Regions from separate parts of the Homo sapiens genome. Here region 2 is linked to region 1. The links are contacts of gene promoters, found by promoter capture Hi-C in blood cells and fetal thymus (Javierre and others, 2016). All regions are on one chromosome and are shown on one strand. Each heading gives the region's core, a stretch centred on a gene start or on the middle of the fragment in contact. The rest is flanking DNA. Distances are from core to core; before and after follow the strand shown.

Region 1 (7,307 bases), core at 3,537-6,036:
AAACATTCTTCTCTCACCTTTTATGATGCATCTTAAACTAGAATTAGATTGTGAAGGAAACAGCTAAGACAAAAACCAAATATTGTTTAAATTACTCTTGAAAATCCTTTAAATGGCCCGTTAAATATCGCACACCTGTATACAAGTAAATAAAACTTTTCTCTCTCTCATTTAATAAAAAACATGGTAGAGCGCATTCAGTTAAGTTTGCACACTTTAATTCTGAGCAAGGCGTCATTCCACTGTACCTCTGTGGCCACTTCTCATTCTCTTCCTGGGCTATCCTCCTCTACTAAACTTCAAAATGCTGGGCCTGAGCCCTTTTTTCTTAATCTCTGTCAGTGGTTCTCAACTTCCACAGCTAAGTGGAATCACCTCAGATTCGTCCAAGGCAGCAAATCAGATCAAGTAAACAGAAAAAGAAATTTCTTAGGTGGACCACAGCATTAGCATTTTTTAATCATTCAGTGATTCCAATGTGCAACCAAGATGAGAACACTGTTCTATGCTCTCTTCCCAGACCAGGGATCACATGCTCAAAAGCCTACAGTCAGAGAAATAAATGAGCAAAGTGGGCCAGGCATAATTTTAGGGAGTGGTGGGCTCTGTAGTGAAATAGAAGAGCTGCGATCATCTGTGACTTAGCTCCAATTATTGCTGCCATATTGGAAAACCAACTCAGTAGTGCTACATTTTCTCATTTTTAAAGAGAAACCCCAAATCTGGATTTTTCATGAGAAATCTTCAGATTTTAAAATATTGGCAACTAATTCAAAATTAAACAATAACAAAACCACTGTATGGGCAAAACATCTGTGAGTCAGATTCAGCTGTAGGCTACTGCTTTGCAACCACTGCCCTAGATAATTTCATCCACAGCCTTTAATTTACACCTAAAAATTCGTGCCTCCAGTTTAGCCCTCTGCTCTTGGCTCTGAATTAGAATTGTCAAATGCTTATGTGACCTCTCACTTGAAAATCTCAGCAGTCCCAATGTAAACTGTGATTTAAACTCATCTCAAAACTATTTATCCTTAAATGTTCTTTACTTCAGGTAACACCACCACCATTCACTGGTTGGGCAAGCTAGAACCCTGGGAGTCATCTTAGGATCTCATTTCTCCCTCTCAACCCTTGTACCATATCAACCACCAAATCCTATCAATTACGCCTCCTAAATATATCTCATGAATATATGTACTTCTCTCCATCTCCAATACGACCATTCTTTTCTCTCAGCCACCACCTTTTCTCTCCTATGTTATCCACAGTAACCTTAATTAGGGGCAGCTGTCTCCCACACTCAATCTTGTTTCCTTCCAAAGCATTCTAATATGACCAGAATATTTTATAATCACAAATAATTACAAATATATACACATATACACGCATTACATAAATATATACTTATGTAAATATATGTGTTTGTGTGTTTATTTCACCCAACAATTCCATTTCTAGGAATTTACCCTATAAATATATTTATTCACATATGAAACAGCATATTCGTAGCACTGTTTACGGTAAATTACTGGAAACAATCTAAATGTCTGTCAGTGGGGGAATGGTTAAATAATCTATGGTATATCCATACAGTGAAATACTGTACAGTCATTCAAAAAAATAAGGAAACTATATACTGAAGTGGAAAGATTCCCAAGACATTTTTAAGAAAACAGAGTGTACAGTATGCTACCATTTGTGTAAAACAGTAAGAGGAAAGATATGCATTTCCTTGAATGCCCACAAAAAATGTCTACAATGATATACAAAACTAGTATCAGTGGTTATTCCTTTGGAAGACAGGGAAAATGGTAGCTGGGGGAGGGAGCAGAACCCACCAAAAATGCTCTGATTTGCTTGGAGGAGGGCCCAGGCGTCGGTCTTAAGTTCTGGTGGTTCTGATGAGAGTGTTGGACTGAGAACCACTGCTTAGTGGACAGCCTTTGCCTATTTTCCTAGCTTCATTTTGTGTCATCACTCTCCGTGTTCCTGGCTTCTGGGTTCCCAAAAGCGGCCCTGTTCCTTTCTTCCTCAAGGTATTCACATCTGTTCCTTCTGCCCGGAATATTGTTCCCGTGAGCTTCACCTAGTAACTCCTGTTAATCCTTCACCGTCCACCTCAAAGGTCACTTCCCCATGGAAACTTTCCCCAGTTTCCAAACTACATCAGGACATCTGTTTTATGCACTCAGAGCTGCCTGTACTTCTCCCAGAAATTAACACAATCGTAATGAGATAAATGTATATTTATGCATGTATACATCTGTCACCCTCCTTAGACTATAAGGTCCAGGCATGCAAAGTTGTTTTTACTAATCTATTTCCATACCTAATCTAGTGTCCAGTTGGCAAAACAGGCCTTCAGAAATCTGTTAAATAAATAACTGTTCCCGCCCTCAAGCTTAGTATAGTAAACACCTAAGCAAATGAGGACAATGCTGCGTCACTAGTGTTAAGGCAGCAGTCTGCTCACAACAGTGGTTCTTAACTAAGGGTGATTTTGGTCCTCCTGGGGGACATTTGCGATGTCTGTAAGCATTTTTGATGTTCACAACTGTGTGTGTGGAGTGCTACTGGTATCTATTCCTCAGTAAAGGTTAGAAATGCTGCTAAACATCCTACGCTGCACATGATAGCCCTCCACAACTAGAAATTACCTGGCCTAAAATGTCAACAGAACTACAAATGAGAAACTCTGACTCAGAGGACGATAACACTCAAAAGAGCTGTCAATTGCACTTCTGAGGGTGGTGATTTTTAAATATCTGTTTTCTTTTTGGGGGATGGGGGGTGTCAAGCAAAGCTTCAGGGCAGAGGTGAAGCTTCAGCTGTGTGTTTGAAAGGTAACAGGGGCCAGATCAGTGGGGACTATGTTTGTCAGGAGCAAGGAGGAGTCTCTGAAGAGTTTAAAAGCAAAGTTATGATTTGAACAGGTGCCCCCAAGTACCCTATACTCCAAAATTATTCATTTCCTTTTTTCCTTTCTCGCTGAAACAAAACTTCCATTCTCTCAGAGTAGCTGGTTTCAGCTGAACATTAAGGCCAAATTAATTCAGCCCAAGATAAAGTCAGATAGGCCCTTCACTCTCCAGAATGTTAAGCTACATTTTAAAATATGCAAATACTTATGAGTACAAATAAATCTTTAACTGCTCAATGTTCAGGTTGTCAGTGCATAAAGCTATTTTTGAACTCAACAGCCAGATTGGCCCCAGTAACACTTTCCCAAAGCTTTGTTTTTTAAAAACCTTTTTGATCTGTTTCCCCGTTCTCCTAGAAATCTCCTAGATTTCTGAGCTCCTAGATTGTATAAAAGATCTAAGTTTTTTTCCACAAGTATCTCATGCCATTAAGTTCTTCTGCCAGAGGTGATAAAAGGGCCATTTGGATGCAATAAATGTAAATAAATTGTGTGTGTAAATTAGCAGTGGCTTAGAAAATTTTTAAAAGGCTTTCATGGACTACTGAAAGAAACTGAGATAATTTTTAACATACCACCAAGAAAAAAAAACAACAGTTTTACTACAACACAAGCCGGCTGCCTACTGAACTGGACGCCCATGCTCTGACCTAGTATGGCAATTCTTAGGGTCTAGGCGCTGGGTTCTGTTTACAAGAAACTAAGGCCTGAGACTAAGGAAGAACAAAGAAAAATGCCTGGCACCAAAGGTGTGGGGGATGTTTTGTACATAAATGAAGATTTGAGGAGGAATACTTCCTCAGATGTTGGAAGGAATTACTCTTTTTTTGCTTACGTGTTAAGAATTTAATGTTTTCAGGCCATTTCCTAATTAGAAAATACCTTATAATTTACAAACAATAATTTGTCTTCCCCTACATTTGCTGACCACCAAGACTGGATAAAATTTCCTTAAGCTTTACCAGAGTGGGAGGACTGGGAATAACGGGAGCACAACAGAGTTCGGATGCAACATCAACTCCAAGCCCGGCCAGCTGGTTTCCATCGAGAGGTCCCCCAGGAGAACGCCCCTCCGCGGCGGCGGCGGCCAGGTCGGCGCGGGAGAGACCCACCGAGGCGCTCCAGCGCGGCCGCGGTGCAGGACCAGGGGCCGCCCGGCCTCCGTTTACCTTTGTTTCAGGTACCCCGGCTCCTGGCGGGCCGGGAATCCCGTCCGCGGCCCGGAGCTGGTGACACATCCTTCTTTGGCCAAGTCGGGCCGAGGTTGGGCAGGGGGCGGGGAAGGAAAAGAAAGCCTCAGCGCCTAACGACGTGACTCTCAGTTCTTCCAAAACGCTGGCATTTGTTTCTCTGCCAGGCTTTCCTGTTAACAAGTTCCCGAGGGCTGTGCGGGCGAACTGGCCCAGGAGCCCTGAAAAGTGGGAGGGCCCAGGCCGCCCCCGCCTACCCTCCTCCGCGGGCGCCCCTGGGGCAGGCAATTTCCACACCTCCCTGGTGCCGTGTCCCGGGACCGGCCGGCCGCGCCGAGGCAACGCACCGCACCGCACCGCACCGACTGGAATTCCGACTTCCACAGCCCAATCAGCTCCGTGTGGCCCCTCTGGCCAGGCCGGTCCCCGCCCCCAGGTCCCGGCCCCGCCCGCCCCGGCCTCCGCGCGCCGCCCCGAGCCTCGCCACCCCCTCGGGCCGGGACGAGGGAGCTGAAGGCTCCAGGCCGTGCGGCCAGTGTTCCTTTGCCTACCTCGTTGCCCGCGGCTCCTCCTCCGGCGGCTCAGCTCGCGGGCAGCGCTTGCCTCCAAGCCTCCCCGCGGCGCGGACTCTCGGGCTACGAATGCGGCGCGTGAAGAGCGGAGGCCCGAGCGCGCCCCGCCCAGCCACCCGCAGGCCCCTACCTCCTTCTCCTCCTCCTCCTCCTCCTCCTCGGCCCCACCCTCGGCGGCCGGCCCGCCCGGAGCCCCGCCCACGCGCCAGGCCCCGCCCACTCTCCGGCCCCGCCCCCAGCCTACGCCCCGCCCCTCTGGCCAAGGCAGGAAGGGGGCCTCCAGGGGCGCCGCGAGAGCCGCTGTGGCCTCGGCGAGGGCAGTCTCCTGTATGGCGGCGCCGCGGGGATGCGATTCGTGGTGGTCGCTGCTGTTTGACAGATTCGAGTCTCTTGCTCGGATTTATTACTGTTATTGTCATCGTCAATATTGTCATCGTTGTTATTGTTATCGTCATTAGTTGTGTTGCCCTCTTCAAGGGGCCTTCAAGGAGGCCCCTTGAGGGCAGCGCGCTGCTGGCCAGACATTCCCTGGCGCTCCTGTCTTCCCACAGTCCTGCACCTGCGCCACATTTCACTCAGCCCAAGAAGTTGTGTGAATTTTAAAAGAAGTGATACTTATTTTTAACTGTTATTGTTAACTGTTACTGTTAAATAAAACACAAATATAGACAGCCATATAAAACCAATGTACAGCTTAATGGATTATTCCGATACACACACCCTTATAACCACTCGCCAGATTTATTAATAACACCGTGTAATATGGTCTGCTCTGAAACAGAACCTCATTAATAGCTGGAAGGACATAGCCTGGAAGGGCCTCCCAAAATTGCCCTCCTTCTAACTGCCACAGTACTCAAATGTGACAGGTCCATAATCATGCCCTCTCCAAGAATATATTTGTAAAATGGAAATTTCTCCAGAATTAGGAACCTCCAATTGAGTATCTTCGTAAAAATCTTGATAAAATGATAAATCTATAAATATATAAGCATATAAATAACAATAAATAAGTCAATCAGTTGGGTTGAATACCATGAGTAAGGAGCATGGGGGTGGGGGATGGGAGGTATGTAAAGACTTAAAAGGATTAGGTGGGCTGTGAGGACAGGTCCTGGGCACCTGGGTTGTTCTCACTGTCTCCCCAGCACCTAGCATAGCACCAAGCATATACTAGGTGCCATATGTGTGTGTGTATATATGTGCATTGTACATATATGCACATATATGTGTGTGTGTGTGTATAGCACAAGGAAAGAAAAAATTATGTAAGATAACCCCAAACAAGCTTTACATACTGAAATTTCACCCAAGGTCAATCCTCCCAGTAGCTAAAGTGTGCTCTGTGAGATGCCTTGATGCCCTAGAGAGAAAGAGACCATTTTACTTTCAACTTTCTACTGCTTTTCCATTTCAAAAGCCCTTTCACATGCATATGGTATCTTATTTGAGACTGAGAGCAACTCTGTGAAAAATGCAGGGCAGGATAGGACTCTGCAAAGGTCACAGTGCAATGCATATCAGTAAGAAGGAAAAGTACACAATGTACCATAAAACAATGTTAAAACTGCTGACCCTGGCAACCTGGATTCTTGGTTTGTCTCAACAGTTTTATTGCCAATGTTTTTACATTAGGGCTCCTTTGGCCCTTTTGCCATGCATTTATACACATTATAACTTGAATGTATAAAGGACACAATACGTGACTGGAAATTTGATTCAATACAATAGAGTTAGTCTCTCTGTCATGAGGACCATGGTGAATTGGGGCTAGAGAGTTGCCAATTCACCACAATGTATTGAGTACTCAGACTGTACTAGGTGGTAGGAATACAAATGATATAAAATAAAGAAGATACAGGGGCTGGGCGTGGTGGCTCACGCTTGAAATCCCAGCACTTTGGGAGGCCAAGGAGGGTGGATCACCTGAGGCCAGGAGTTTGAGACCAGCCTGGTAAACATGGTGAAAACCCATCTCTACTAAAAATACAAAAATTAGCCAGGCGTGGTGGCACGCGTCTGTAATCCCAGCTACTCAGAAGGCTGAGGCGGGAGAATCACTTGAACCCGGGAGGTGGAGGTTGCAGTGAGCCGAGATCTCTCCATTGCACTCCAGCCTGGGTGATCAGAGTGAAACTCTGTCAATCTTTGTTCTCAAGGAGCTTATGGCCAAGTAAGGGAGAAAGATTTGAAAATAAATGTTTAAATTACATGACGGTAGGGGAGCAGTCATGAGCACAATTAATTCTATGAGGTATAGGAAGAGAGTAGGGCAAGTCTTATTAGACAAGAAAACATCTGAAATTTTTTTTAGTATAAAAATATCAAATATTGAAAACAGAGACAGAATAATATAATTAACTACTATGCACCCATTACTTGGCTTCAACAATTATCCCATGACCAATTTGTTCCATCTGTACCCTCACCTTTTCTTTCCCTCCTTGGATTATTTTAAGGCAAATCACATGGAGCATTATTATTTCATCCATAAATATTTCACTATGCATCTCTAAATGATAAGGTCTATTTTTAAAAACAACCACAAAATCATTAAATTGTCTTTTAAAGTAATAATTTATTAACATCTAGACAGTGTTCAAAATTTCCCAATTTTCTCAT
Region 2 (7,307 bases), core at 2,270-4,769, 890 kb before region 1:
GCTCTGTCGCCCAGGCTGGAGTGCAGTGGCGCGATCTCGGCTCACTGCAAGCTCCGCCTCCCGGGTTCACGCCATTCTCCTGCCTCAGCCTCCCGAGTAGCTGGGACTATAGGCGCCCGCCACCACGCCCGGCTACTTTTTTGTATTTTTAGTAGAGACGGGGTTTCACCGTGTCTGCTAGGGTGGTTTCAATCTCCTGACCTCGTGATCCGCCCGCCTCAGCCTCCCAAAGTGCTGGGATTACAGGTTTGAGCTACCCCGCCTGGACTCCCTCAGTATCGAACAAAACATTACACGTAGGTTTCAAATTTTATTTAGATGGACCTGAAAGCACTGTCAAAACCTGGACAAAAGATAATGCCTAGAAAAATAAGTACACATTTTAAAATTTAATACATGAGCCAACAGCTGAGTAGATGTGAACACTCTGCAAACTATGTTTATGGATATTACAGCCAATTTCCACAGATCACAATTTTCCCAAAGAAGTCTCAGAGTTTGTGGTCAAGATGAAAAGAAAGCACCATTTATCAACCAGTGCATATTACTATCAAGTTGTGAATGGGATGCCTATTTAAGAATATCACAGACTCCACCCCCCACAAGAAAATTAAGTGTTTTAAAAAGAAAAGAACGAATATTATTGACAATTACCAAACAAAACTTTCTTCTTAGGTTATTTCTCCGTTTACTGTGTGACCTCGCCGAAGGCTGAGAGTCTAGGCACACTGGTTTCCAGGTGCTGAAGAAATCGTTATAGTTGGTTTGTCATACGTCTATCAAAGTAAAATTTTAAAAATGAGTACCTTTTGGCAACACCCGTTTTGGGAGGACATTGAGCTGCTTTGCTCCCTACCCAAAGAGGAGTTAGGAAATTCTCTTTAACCTAATTCTTTCCTAATTTCTAGGGCTTCTTACCTAATCTAACGTGCATAATTATTTTCAGGTGACTCCGGGTCCATCAGTTTGACACCGAGAGCGTTCCTACGGTTACGTCCTCACCCCTGAACAAAACCCAGCTTCCTGAGCTTCTAACGGCGAATTTAACTTGTATGTTAATACAGAAGAAAGGTTACAAAACCTATCGAAATGGTTTTTTGTTTTACCAAACATATTACAACTCAAGTCAAAAGTTCACAGCCCCAGCAACTCGCGTACGAATCTGAAGCAGGTCCAGACCATTAAAGTCACAGCCCCAGACTAGAAAACGGCCGGTGGGTGGGGGGAGGGGAGAGGGCGCGTCCCGAAGATGTCCACCCGCAGCACCGCGCAGGCTGACGCCTCCCCTCCTCTCGGGCTGGAGGTGAGAGCGCCCTTCCTCCTACCACGTCCCTACCTTCCCGGCCTCGGATTACGCCACAGCTGGCAAAAGGACTTTTTCATGAGAAAACAGACAAGTCAACCAGCGCGCCGCACACTCGACCTCCCAGGCTCGCACGGGCGGCCGCCCGGGCTCTCAGCCCGACACAGCGCTCCAGGGGCTGACAAGGAGGCCGCGGGGTCACGCTCCCTGGGGCAACGGCCCGAGGGTCTCGCGGAATCCCGGTGCAGAAGTCTGGACCCTCCGAGCAGCCTCCGCGCCCCCTCCGGCTCGGCTCCGAGCCTGCAGACGGCGCCCCCGGGGCTAACTCAGCGCGAGAAGAGGAAGCGACGCAGCGAGTAACAGGCTGTATGGACGGACAGCGGACTGAAGGGGGGTGTGTGTGTGTCTGCCTGCCAACAAGGCCGTCTCACCTTCCCGCTGCCGAGCCGGGCAGCTCCAGCTCACCTGAGGAGGGCTCCAGGACGCCACTGCGGCCGCCGTGATGGCCGTAACGGCACGAGGCCTGCGCTCCGCCGCCGCCGCGTAGCTCTTGGGAGAGAGGCGGGGCACGCGCGGTGGGCAGGCGGATCCGCGCGGGCAGGAAACCCACTCTGGACCCAATCTGATAGGTTCAGTCGCCCCCTTCCCCGGTCCCTGACGCGACAACGGTCTCTGCCGCACTGGGATTGGGCGGGCCCTCATGTCAATCAAGCGCCGTGCCTGATGTGGAGGGAGCGGAGGCTGCGCGGCGGAGAGTAGAGAGCTAGAGGGTGAGAAGCGCTGGGCCGGACCAGAACTGTCTTAGCTTTTCCCTCTGCGGCTGCTCTGGTTGGTTACTTTGAGCCTGCCTCCTCAGCGCCGCAGGAGAGACTTAACAGCAAAAATGACTGTGTCCTGAGTTCAGCCCCCACTGCTCTGGGAGCTTCCCCCTGGTTTCTGCACCTGAAGAATGTCATCCCAGCCGAAGGTTCTTAGGAGCGGGGAGCGACAAAGAAAAACAAAGAAAAGCAGACCTGAAAATTGGGACCTGGGAGAAATGTAAGACATGTGCTTAATTTGAGGCACAGACCAAAAGAAGCTGAGTCTGAGGGCCCTCTAAAAGTGTCCTCGTGCTTGGGCAGCTTACATTCTTGGCGGCAGTAGTGTTATGAAGAGGACCTTCGGAGCCAGGTCTGTCCATTCTTAGGGCTCCAGCCACTGGCTGAGGCATCAGTAAGTTGGTTCTTCCCCTCGCCGGTGCTGCAGGCCCCCTTCCCCGCCCCCGCGCCGTAACCTGCCTCTTTTTTTTTTTTTTTTGAAACGAGTTTCGCTCTGTCGCCAGGGTGGAGTGCAGTGGCACGATCTCGGCTCACTGCAACCTCCGCCTCCGGGTTCAAGCTATTCTCCTGCCTCAGCCTCCCGAGTAGCTGGGATTACAGGCATGTACCACCACGCCCAGCTAATGTTTTTGTATTTTTAGCAGTGACGGGGTTTCACCAGGATGGTCTCGATCTCTTGACCTCGTGATTCGCCAGCCTCGGCCTCCCAAAGTGCTGGGATTACAGGCGTGAGCCACCACGCCCAGCCGCCTCATCTCTTCTTAACCATCTTTGTGGCACAGTTTAGGATCGCTCCTCAGGGAAGCTTGCTCAGTTAGGTACCTTCCTTGGAGCACAGGTGTTTTCTCCATCCGAGCTATTGAAATGGTTTGCCTGTATGTCTACCTAGATTGTAAACTCCGTTGAATCAGTAACCATGTCTGTTCAGTTTCTCCCTAGGGCCTTGCAGTAGGGTAGATGGTCAGTAAATACTGTTTAAGGCATTAATACTTTTTATTTTAATCCTGGCCCTGGATATCAGCCTCAAAAGTTTGCAGTTTTCTGCATTTAACTTCAAAATTATTTACGTGATTGGTAATGCATGCATGTGGTTGGCCTGTGCTGTAATTTAGATGTTTGTTCCCCTAAACCTCCTGTTGAAATTTGATCCCCAATGTTGGAGGTGGGGACTAATGGGCAGTGTTGGGTCATGGAGGTGGTTCCTTCAGGAATAGATTAATGTCCTCCCTGGGGAGAGGGTAAATGAGTTCTCTTTATTTCCACCAGAGCTGGTTAAAAAGAACGTCGCACTTCCTTTCTTCTTTTGCGTCCTCTCTGGCCATGTAATCTCTGCACACACCAGCTCTCCTTTGCCTTCTGGCATGAGTAGAAGCAGTCTTAGGCTACCATCAGATGCAGATGCTCAGTCTTGAACTTTTCCAGACATCAGAACCATAAGCCGAAAAACCTTTTCTATTTCTAAATTATCCAGCTTTGGGTATTCCTTTCTAGCAACACTAAAGGGACTAAGACAGCCTGCCATATGTAGGATCACAAGGTCAAGCACAAATTTACCTATTTATGCTGTACTATCCTCAGGTTGACTGGGACAAGTAGACCATGAAACTGGGCAACAGCTACTCTATGTCTACATTCTGTTATTAGCATCCAAAGTGAATAATGGCGGTGAATTTTGAGTTTATTCTAAGGGTTTAAATAACTGCATATTTTATCATGACTGGTATGGACTGAATTGCATCCCCCCCAAAAATTCATACTGAAGCCCTCACTCCTAATGTGACTATATAAATGTTCCTTAACTTACAAAGGGGTTATGTTCCAATAAACCCACCATAAACTGAAAATACCTTAAGTTGAAAAGATCTTAAGTCAGAAATGCATTTAATGCTTCTAACCTACCAAACATCATAGCTTAGAGTAGCCTACCTAAAACATGCTCAGAATACTTACATTAGCTTTCAGTTAGGCAAAATCATCTAATACAAAGCTTATTTTTTAATAAAGTATTGAGTATTTCATGTAATCTACTAAATACTGAATGAAAAACTGGATGGTTTTATGGGTACTCAAAGTACAGATTCTAGAGTGCATATGGCTTTTGGACCATCATAAAGTCAAAAAAATCTTAAGTCAGGGACCATCTCTAGTTGGAGCTAGGCCTTTAGGGAGGTAATAAAAATTAAATTAGGTCATAAGGGTGGGGCCCTAATCCCATAAGATTAATGTCTTTATAGAAAGTGGCACCAGAGAGCTCTCTCCATTTGAGAACACAGCAAGCAGACAGACATCTGCAAGCCAGAGAGAGAGCCCTCACCCAAAACTGACCATGCTGGCACCCTCTTTTGGACCTCCCAACCTACATAACTTTGAAAAAATAAACTTCTGTTGTGTAAGCCACCCAATCTAGTATTTTATTATGGCAGCCCAAGCTAATACAATGGTTTTATTTGTTGATACATTTTATAAAGTTTACAGACTGAGATATTATATTCATTTTTGAAGAAACTTGTCCAGAGTTAAAACTGTTGCTGCAAAATCACCCATCAAACTGTTAGCACAGCGTGACTCAATTTTAATTCTAATTACATATTTAACATACGATGGAGGCAGAAGGTGTGAATATAAATACAACAGGTAAAATACAGAAATACAGTTCTTGCCTTCATGTAGCTTACCACCACCTTAAGTGGGGAAAATTAACCCAGCAAAAAGTATGCTGAAGTCATACATTTAGGGTTTTTGTTTGTTTGTTTGTTTTTTGAGATGGAGTCTCGCTTTTTTGCCCAGGTTGGAGTGCAGTGGCACCACCTCAGCTTATTGCAACCTCCACCTCCCGGGTTCAAGCAATTCTCCTGCCTCAGCCTCCCAAGTTGCTGGGACTACAGGCACACACCACCACACCTGGCTAATTTTTTGTATTTTTAGTAGAGACGGGGTTTCACAATGTTGGCCAGGCTTGTCTCAAACCCCTGACCTCAGGTGATCCACCCACCTCAGCCTCCCAAAGTGTTGGGATTACAGGCGTGAGCCACAGCACCCAGCTAGTTTATCCTCTTAATTTTCCTTCTTTAATCTTTCTCATCACTCATTCTTAACAGGAACTCTTTAAAAAAATTTAAGAAACCTCCAAAAATATATGCAAAAGAGGAGTCAAAGAAGAAAAATAAGCAAACAGCAATGAAAAAGGAAAGCATAGACTGGAAGGGCAGATAGGCAGAAAGGCATGTATGTAATTGCACTTAGAAGGGATGCAGTACATGTTTTAATGGGGTGGGAGCTGTCCCAGAGACTTCCTTTCACACAGTCTGTCTCCCCAGCTTCCAAATATAAACATGCACATGGCTGCTGCTTCCTCTCTTTCAGGGGAACTCAAACCAAAAACAGGAATCATCCTTGCTAATTAGTGCTGAGTGGATCAGGGACTAACCAGAATCAGGCAACAAGAAAATGTAAGTCAAAACTTATGATCAGCCCTGGCAACAGAGCTAGACCCTGTCTCTACAAAACAAAATTTTTTTTAATCAGCTGGGCATAGTGGCATGTGCCTGTAGTCCCAGCCACTCTGGAGGCTGAGGTGGGAGGATGGCTTGAGCCCAGGAATTTGAGGCTGCAATGAGCTATGATCACACCACATCTCAAAACAAAAACAAAACTTATCTAGGGACTACACGTGGAGCTTTGGATATGGGCAGCTAATCTGTCTATGATTAAAAACACGCAGGTGGCTTACTTTATTAATCCAAAATAAAAGAATTTGGGAACACAAGAAAGGGAAAAATGAGCCTCCATGTCAAGACCTTTCCCAGAAACCTGATAGCTTATAGTTAGAAATTGTTATAGACAGTCCAGTGCAAGGAGGACATTAAGCCACAGGGGAAAGGAGTTGTGTGGCCAGGTTAGTCAGGCAATTAACTAGAAAAAATCTGTCCACATAGAGGAGCCTGCATAATAAAAAGGTATTAAACGATAGTAGAATATTGCTAGAGCAGAAGATAGCTAGAAATATAATCAATAACCAGGTTATGGAAGTCAGGCACCTTAGAGTTTATCCTATAGGCAATGAGAAGCCATTCAAAGGGTTTTTGTTTTTGTTTTCAGCACTTTAAAGATGTCATTCTCGTTTTCCAGCCTCCATTATATCTGTGAGAAACTAGTTGTAATTCTTATCATTGTTTTCTTGTATGTCTTATGCCTTTTTCTATGAATGCTTTTAAGATTTTGTTTATATTTATCAAAAGTTAACACTGATGTTTCTAGGTGTCTTTTTCTATGAATGCTTATAAGATTTTCATTATATTTATCAAAAGTTACACTGTGATGTTTCATTACACTGTGATGTTTCATTACACTGTGATGTTTGTTTTGGTTTTGGTTTTGTATTTATCCTGCTTGGGGTTCATTTCATTCCCTGGGTCTGTGGATTGCTGGTTTCTCATTTTCTTTTCTTTTCTTTTTTTTTTTTTATCAAATTTGGAAGACTTTTGTCCAGTATTTCTTCAAATTTTTTTTTCTGTCCCATTCTGTTTCTCCTCTTCTTCTGGGACTACAATTACACTCATGCTAGACTTCTCAGTACTTAGTACAGGTCATTCAGGCTCTGTTCATTCTTTTTTCAGTTTGTATAATTTCTATTGAGAGCCACTGTCTAGTAATCCCTGAAAAAATCTAAATGTTGACATTTTCCCAAAGCACAGTACCCTGCTGATGGCTGTAGTTTCCTTTGGGGAAGGTTTAGAGATATGTTAGTCAGGAAATCAGAAATTAGATGATATTACTACAGAGAGGATTTAGTATTGAGTTTTCATTGACTGAAAAAGCAAAAACGGAACACTGAGGTTACCCAGAGGTGATAACTGCAGGGAGCAGCTGTCAATGATAGATCTAGTGAAAATGGGGACTCAAGGTGGATTATCAGGTCTCAGAAACTCAGACAAATGACCTGGCTGAGTATTGCTCAGACCCCTGAGAGGATGCTGTCTGGCTGATCCTACTACTTCAGGGAAGGATATGATGAGGCTAGTTGTGGATGGGGAGGATGTCAAAAGAAGCTCAAGGCTGAAATCAATTGCTGCTGCTGGAGCAAAGGGCTCTTGCTTGTTGCTGGGATAACAGTGACAGAAACTGCAAACAAATGGAAAGGAGGAAGTCCCTTCTTCCCTTCTGCCTTCCAGTCTCCCTCTAATGCC

What was found. The method cuts DNA at HindIII sites, captures the fragments that hold promoters and counts their contacts. A CHiCAGO score of 5 or more calls a contact.
Region 2: a contact is called between a fragment that was not itself captured here and the fragment with the promoter of PPP2R3A in region 1, in 1 of 17 cell types (fetal thymus). The highest score is 5.2, in fetal thymus.

The regions. Positions count from the first base shown.
Region 1 is chr3:135,963,207-135,970,513 of GRCh38, reverse strand. It overlaps PPP2R3A (protein phosphatase 2 regulatory subunit B''alpha), which reads right to left and starts at 4,786. Exons shown (of 14, transcript NM_002718.5): 1 at 4,665-4,786. RefSeq lists silencers at 4,310-4,589, 4,720-4,949 and an enhancer at 4,394-5,212. The HindIII fragment of the contact is 2,094 bases long and covers 3,882-5,975 here.
Region 2 is chr3:136,856,781-136,864,087 of GRCh38, reverse strand. NCK1-DT (NCK1 divergent transcript) reads left to right here and starts at 2,025. Exons shown (of 3, transcript NR_110177.1): 1 at 2,025-2,341. It overlaps NCK1 (NCK adaptor protein 1), which reads right to left and starts at 1,880. Exons shown (of 4, transcript NM_001291999.2): 1 at 1,735-1,880. RefSeq lists enhancers at 1,012-1,131, 1,142-1,221, 2,282-2,341, 2,902-2,951 and a silencer at 1,862-1,921. The HindIII fragment of the contact is 1,182 bases long and covers 2,929-4,110 here.